Regions from separate parts of the Homo sapiens genome. Here region 2 is linked to region 1. Evidence: promoter capture Hi-C in human tissues and cell types (Jung and others, 2019). All regions are on one chromosome and are shown on one strand. Each heading gives the region's core, a stretch centred on a gene start or on the middle of the fragment in contact. The rest is flanking DNA. Distances are from core to core; before and after follow the strand shown. Region 1 holds the start of ZSCAN1 (zinc finger and SCAN domain containing 1). Region 2 has its middle 5.0 kb from the start of ZNF544.

Region 1 (3,706 bases), core at 403-2,902:
GTCTTCCCTGCCAAGGCCACAGGCAAAAATGCTCTCTTATGTTGTATTCACACTTTTATATATGTAGTTTTGAATAAGAAAAAAGGGCCTATTTTGAAGCTCCACAGGTTCAAGAAATCCCTTTGCCCTGGGGCCTCAGACCTTATACTCTCTCAGGTGCTCATGGCAGCTCACCCTGGAGACTCTAGGGAGGGGGGCTGTAGCCCCTCAGCATCCTCCAGGGTCCTGGGCTGAGGTCTGTGGGAGGAGATGCTAAGTTTATCAGGGATGAGGGTAAAGAGGAGGTCTTAGCAGAAGGCACCAGAGGTCCATGGGTGTGTCTGGGGTCTATATGGGGGCTGATGTGGAACACCTAGGCCAATGTGGGGGTACCTGAGCTGATGAGAGTCCTGGACTGATGGGTGGCTGTTTCTGGAAGATGAAGAGGGCCTGGGATGATGTGAAGGGGACTGAGGTCTACATGGCTGGTGAGGAGGATCTGGGCCCCCCCATGGGCAATGCTGTGGTGGCCCTGGGGTCCTAGAAGTCTACTTTGGTAGGGGTCTCTGATTAATGTTGGGGATGTGTGTGTGTGAGAGAGTGTCACTTGGAGGGCTCAGTGCCTGTGGAAGGGCCAGGTTCACCTGGCATGGGCACTGAGATCTGCAGCCCGAGCCCCAAATTCTATTGCGGGGATGGGCAGAAGGGCTTTGCCGCTGATGCCGGATGCTTAGTGACATAGAAGACGTGTTCACTGCGCCAGTCAGTGAATGGTTCTGGCTTTGAGAAGGGGGCTTACAGTGGGGAGGGCGTTGGGAGCTTAGGATGCCACACGGAGGAGTTCCATAATAAACGAGCTGGGGAAGTGTGCAAGGGCAGCGCACTGGGAATACAGGGGAGGGGCAGCGACGACGGCTGTGGACGGCTGGTTGGGGGGAGGATGGTGGGGTGATTGGGTGGGGGATGGGTCGGGGGCGGCTGTTCAGGAGGGAGATGGGCCTGGGGCGGGGAGGGGGAGCTTGTAGGGAGAGAGACGGGTCGGGGGCTGCTGTTCCAGTGGGGGATGGGCCCAAGGGGCCGGGTAGGGAGGGAGATGGGTCCGGGGGCGGCTGTTCAGGAGGGAGATAGGTCCCGGGATGCTGATCAGGTGTGGAAGGGAGAACTTGGACGCGGCCGAGCGGTGTTTGGGCGGGCAATGGGGGTACGTAGAGGGGCTTCGGCCTCAAACGGACAGGCGGATGCCAACAGGGGTCGGGGTCCCTGCGGAAGGGGCGGCCCCAGCCCCCCCAGTCCCCGCCCCGCGTGGCCTCTAGCCTTCCCCTTCCCTCCCCTACGGCGACCTCAGGACTCCCGATGGGCTCTGGAACCCCGGCCCGGCCCGCCCCCTCCCGGGCCCGGGCCCGCCTCCCCCGACGCGCGCCCCTGGACCGCGATCCCGGGCCAGCTCCCGCCGACGCGGCGCCGAGACCCTCCCGGGTGGGCGTCCCGATGGACGCTCTGGCGGGCGGAGGGACGGATGGGCCGCGGCGGACTCACCGCGCGCGGGCTTCGCTCGGGCCTGGGCCACTCGGTCATGGCGACCCCTGGGCTGGCGAGCGCGCCCAACGCCGCGGGCGGACCCCATCCCCGCACCCTGCGCGCCGCGGGCGGCCGCCATTGGTCCGCTGGATCACGCCGGGCGTCGGTGACAAGTCACCGCTGCGGGACTCCCGGGCAGGGGCGGGGCTGTGACGCACGAGGCGGCCGAGGCCAATCAGAAGCCGCCTGGGATGAGCGCCCCGCCCCCGCCGTGCCCTCCAGTTACCTCGGGCCGCGGTTCCAGTCGCCTTGGCAACGGGTCGCGCAGCGTCAGGGACGCTGCTGCGGAAAGTGGAGACGGTGGCGGCTGCGGGGATGCGCATGTACGATGGGGCCGCGGGGCAAAACGACGGCATTCCAGACACGCAACCGTTTTATACAGTGTCCAAGAGTAGTATGTTAAAACATTGTTTTTAATATAAATATGTTTAGTACAAGTATGTCCCAGACTAGGATCGCCACTCTTAGCAAATAAAAATACAGGACGTCGGCCGGGCGCGGTGACACGCCTGTAATCCCAGCACTTTGGGAGGCCAAGGCAGGCGGATCACGAGGTCATGAGTTCGAGACCAGCCTGACCAATATGGTGAAACCCCCGTCTCTACTAAAAATACAAAAATTACCTGGGCGTGGTGGCGCATGCCTGTAATCCCAGTTTCTCAGGAGGCTGAGACAGGAGAATCACTGGAACCGGGGAGGCGGAGGTTGCAGTGAGCCGAGATTGCTCCATTGCACTCCAGTTTTCCAGCGTGGGTGACAGAGCGAGACTCCGTCCCCCCACCCCCAAAAAAAAGAAAGAAAAAAGAAACCTCAGTTATATGTAAACTCAAGAAAAACAAGGAGGCCGGGCGCGATAGCTCACGCCTGTAATCCCAGAACTCGGGAGGCCGAGGCAGGCGGATCACCTGAGGTCGGGTGTTTCAGACCAGCCTGGCCAACATGGTGAAACCCCGTCTCTACTAAAAATACAAAAATTAGCCAGGCATGGTGGTGCGTGCCTGTAATCCCAGCTACTCGGGAGGCTGAGGTAGGAGAATCGCTGGAACTGGGGAAGCCGAGGTTGCAGTGAGCCGAGACCTGCCAACGCACTCCAGCCTTGCCTGGGCAACAGAGTGAGACTCTGTCTCAAAAAAAAAAAAAAAAAAAAAAAAAGAAAGAAAGAAAAAGAAAAACAAGGAATTAGTATCAATGTGTCCTATATTTCATATACTTTAACGAAACCTTACATAAGAACATTTCATATAAATAAGTTTTAATATTAATGTCTACAATGTAACCATGTGCCAGAATAGTAGGGTTCCACAGATACTCGTTTTGTATCTGAAATCAGGTGGGGGTGAGATCATGATGCAAGGAGGGTCCTCAGCTCTGGGACTGAGCTCAGGATAGCTGAAGCTGCTCATTGCTGAAGAAGAAGCAGGAGAGTGTGAGCTAAGAAAAGAGAGGAGGACCCACCTCCAGGGGGTCCAGCATCTGCTGGACAGCTGTTTATTGAGGGCCTATGTGTACCAGGCACTGTTCTGGACACTGGGGTGGGAGCACATCAGTGAGAGGGACTGATAGGGCTTTAGTCCCTTGGAAGCCCATGTTCATGGGGCAAACACCAGTAAACAAAGCAGATGCTTCATGGAAATATAAATACCTAGAATAAAATAAAACGAGGCCTGGAGATTAAGAGTCCCAGGAGTGGCAGGGAGGGGAGGGGCTGCCTCAGCTGGATAATCAGAGCCGTGTCTCCGCATCTTTGCTGCTGGCGGCTGGTCCCTGGAATGTTGTGTGTGAATGCCACTTTGTGCAGAAACCACTATGGGAAAACCAAATTAGGGTGCTAAGGGCTTATTATTCTCCTTCTTGAAAATTAGGCACTTGTAATGACATGGTTCATTTTCTTGGTAGCTGAAATTGGCGTGGCCCTTTGGGGCAGTGAAGGCTCATGTGTGCATTTATAACTGCCACCCATTTGGGAAATCTCCCTTGAGAGAACACTGACTTAGTCTGTCTCTAGAGTCTGGATCTAGACACCATCATAGGCCACCTGGTAACTCTAGATCCATTGGGAGGCAGCCTGGTGTCTAGCAGAGGTTTCAGTTTTTTTTTGTTTGTTTGTTTTGTTTTTTTTAAAAAGAGTCTTGCTCTTGTTGCCCAGGCT
Region 2 (3,706 bases), core at 424-2,923, 190 kb before region 1:
TCTGTAATCCCTGCTACTCGGGAGGCTGAGGCAGGAGAATAGCTTGAACCCGGGAGGTGGAGGTTGCAGTGAGCTGAGATTGTGTCACCACACTCCAGCCTGGGCAACAGGGAGACTCCATCTCAAAAAAAAAATACAAAAAATTAGCCGGGCATGGTGGCGGGCACCTGTAGTCCCAGCTACTTGGGAGGCTGAGGCAGGAGAATGACGTGAACCCAGGAGGCGGAGCTTGCAGTGAGCCGAGATCACGCCACTGCACTCCAGCCTGGGCAACAGAGCGAGACTCCATCTCAAAAATAAAATAAAATAAATAAAAAGTTCATTAACAGTTTGACTCAAGAATGAGTTATCTGGTGCCTGACATGATTAGAATGCTGCCTGAAAGGCCTTTCTGCACTGATTATATGCATACAGTTTCTCTCTATTATGAATGATCTGGTGTTCCATAAGGTCAGATAGTCTCCTGAAGGCTTTTTCACATTTAGACATTCATGTTGGCTTTTGCCCATATGAATTTTTTGGTGCATACACAATAATAATTCTGTCTGAAAGTTTTTCCACGTTGACTACATTTATAGGCTTCTCTCCAGAATGAGTTATTTGCTGTTCAATAAGGTGAGAATTCTTGCTGCGGGATTTTCCACACCAGTGACATTCATGAGGTTTCTCTCTAATGTGAAATCTCTGATGCCATATAAGTAATCAGCTCCAGCTGATTTCCTACACTCAGGACACTCGCAGTTTCTCACCGGTATGATTTATCTGATGAGCAACAAGTGAGAACTCTAACTGAACCATTTCCAACACTGATTACAGTCACGAAGCTTCTTTCCAGTATGAGTTATTTTATGTGCAACAAGGCCAGAGCTGTATAGAAAGATTTCCTACCTTGACTACATTCATAAGGCTTCTCTCTATTACACTTTCCCTGATGCCAATTAAAATCAAGGATGTCACTGAAATATTTCTCACATTGATTACATGGAATTGTTTTTCTTCAGTATGAGTTTTCTATTGCCCAATTAGATGAGATCTCCTGCTGAAAGCTCTCTGACGTTCCCGATGTTCCCAGAGTCTTCAGTATACGTCTAACAAGGTGGGAGCACCAGGCTGAAAAACTTTCCACATTGATTACATTCATAAATTTTCTATCTGGTATAAGTTGTGATGTGCAACTAGGTGAGAGCTCCATCAAAAAGATTTACCATGTTGAATACATCCATGGGGTTTCTCTCCAGGATGAGTCCTCCCCCTTTGAGAAAGGCAAGAGCTATAAAAGAAGTTTTTCTCAAATTTATTATAATCACATGAATTATTTTATTTTTTTTTTTGAGTCTTGCTTTGTTGCCCAGGCTGTAGTGCAGTGGTGCGATCTCTGCTCACTGCAAGTTCCGCCTCCTGGGTTCATGCCACTCTCCTGCTTCAGCCTCTGGAGTAGCTGGGATTACAGACCCCCGCCACTATGCCTGGCTAATTTTGTTTTTGTATTTTTAGTACAGATGGAATTTCACCGTGTTAGCCAGGATGGTCTCGATCTCCTGACCTCGTGATCCGCCCACCTCGGCCTCCCAAAGTGCTGAGATTACAGGCGGGAGCCACCGTGCCTGGCCAAATTATTTTATCTTTTAAGATTCTCTGGTGTACATTTAGGGATATACTGGGGGTTGTTTTTTGTTTTTTCCTTTTGGCCAGTAGAGATCTAGTGTTGTTCAAGTTGTCTATATTTACTATAGTTATAAAATTTTCCTCCTGTATGACTTTTCTTCTGAATATTAAAGGGTAAAACATGGCAGAAATAAAGATTATTGTTGGCATGCTTATACAGTTTATCTTTTGTTTGCTTTCTTATTAGATGATTAAGGTGAAGCTCTGACAGAAAGTTGGTACACACTCATTTTTGCACAATTTTTCACTTCCATAATTTTTTTTTTTGAGACAGAGTCTCGTTCTGTCGCCCAGGCTGGAGTGCAGTGGTGCGATCTTGGCTCACTGCAACCTCTGCCTCCCAGGTTCAAGCAATTCTCCTTCCTCAGCCTCCTGAGTAGCTGGGATTATGGGCGCGCACCACCACGCCCTGCTAATTTTTGTACTTTTAGTAGAGTCGGGGTTTCACTATGTTGATCAGCTGGTCTCGAATCCCTGACCTCGTGATCTGCCAGCCTCGGCCTCCCAAAGTGCTGGGATTACCGGCATGAGCCACCGTGCCCGACTATAATTTTTCTAATGATTATTGAAATAAACTTATTTTTCAAACTTTTATTCTGTGAGCCAGGTTTATGGAAATATTATAGTATGAATTATCTGGAGTGGAAAAAAGTTGGAACTCAGGAAATAACAGAAAATTCAAATAGAAGATGACATAGACTCCCATCCTGAAATTAAATCTTATGTTTTCATTTTTGGATGACTCTCGTTTTTGCCCAAGTGCATGCTCACTTTTACATGTCTAGAAAAACTTCATACCTTGTGGCTGGGCTCAGTAGCTCACGCCTGTAATTCCAGCACTTTGAGAGGCTGAAGTGGGCAGACCACAAGGTCAGGAGTTCAAGACCAGCCTGACCAACGCGGTGAAACCCTGTCTCTACTAAAAATACAACAATTAGCCAGGCATGGTGGCGGGAGGCTCAGCTACTCGGGAGGCTGAGGCAGGAGAATTGATTGAATCTGGGAGGCAGAGGTTGCAGTGAGCCAAGGTCATGCCATTGCATTCCAGCCTGGGCAACAGGGCAAGACTGTCTAAAAAAAAAAAAAAAAAAAGAAAAAGAAAAAAAAAAACTTCATACATTGAACCTTACATTCATATTTTCTCTTAACTAATTATAGCAGACATCACTTTCAATTTGCTCCAGCCTACTTCTTCCCCCTCATCTGCACCTCTTTCAGTGTAAAATCCTAGCATTCACCTCCCACACTCTTCTCTATTTCCAAACACAACATAAACAATACTGTAGTAAACACCCCCGGACACCCAGAATTAGTGCCTTCATTTCTATAGGTCAGAGCCCCTCCAGTGGGACTGCACAAGTTGAAGGATAAGTGTATTTTTGATTCTCTTAGGTATTACCAAATTACTTTCCAAAGTGAGAATAATAGTCCCTATTCTTTCCAGCATTGGGTATTATCCTTTGTATTTTGCCAGTATTTTGGGTAAAAGTAACATTTTGTGTAATTTGTATTCCCTAGCTACTTGTGATTTCAGGATCTTTACATATTCTTACTGGTTATTTGAGGTTTTGTTTTCTGTGTTTTGTCTAATTAATATTTTTTTCTTTTTTGGCACTTTATAGGCGTTCATGATAGTTTATCAATGTTAATCTCGTCTGTCATTTGTGTAACAAATATTTTTCTCAATACATAGTTTATTCTCTTTTTAAATTTATGGTATCTATTTTAGCATACAAAAAATTCTTTTTAGGCCAGATGCAGTGGCTCATGCTTGTAATCTCAGCACTTTGGGAAGCTCAGGCAAGAGAATCACTTGAGGCCAGTTCAAGACAGCCTGGCCAACATGGCAAAATCCATCTCTACTAAAAATACAATCATCAGCCAGGCCTGGCGGTGCATGCCTGTAATCCCAGCGACTCAGGCGGGTGAGGCATGAGAATCGTTTGAACTCAGGAGGCAGAGGTTGCAGTGAGCCGAGATTGCACCACTGCACTCCAGCCTAGGTGACAGAACAAGACTTTGTCTCGAAAAAAAAAAAAAT

What was found. Contacts are between HindIII fragments. The study calls those that stand out against the background at their distance.
Region 2: a fragment that was not itself captured here is called in contact with the fragment with the promoter of ZSCAN1 in region 1 in 2 of the 25 tissues and cell types used here (dorsolateral prefrontal cortex and stomach).

Annotation. Positions count from the first base shown.
Region 1 is chr19:58,031,971-58,035,676 of GRCh38, reverse strand. It overlaps ZSCAN1 (zinc finger and SCAN domain containing 1), which reads right to left and starts at 1,652. Exons shown (of 6, transcript NM_182572.4): 1 at 1,516-1,652. The HindIII fragment of the contact is 19,074 bases long and covers 1-3,706 here.
Region 2 is chr19:58,222,090-58,225,795 of GRCh38, reverse strand. It overlaps the pseudogene LOC100419847. Among named protein-coding and RNA genes, the nearest start is that of ZNF544, 5.0 kb to the left of the region's middle. The HindIII fragment of the contact is 6,243 bases long and covers 1-3,706 here.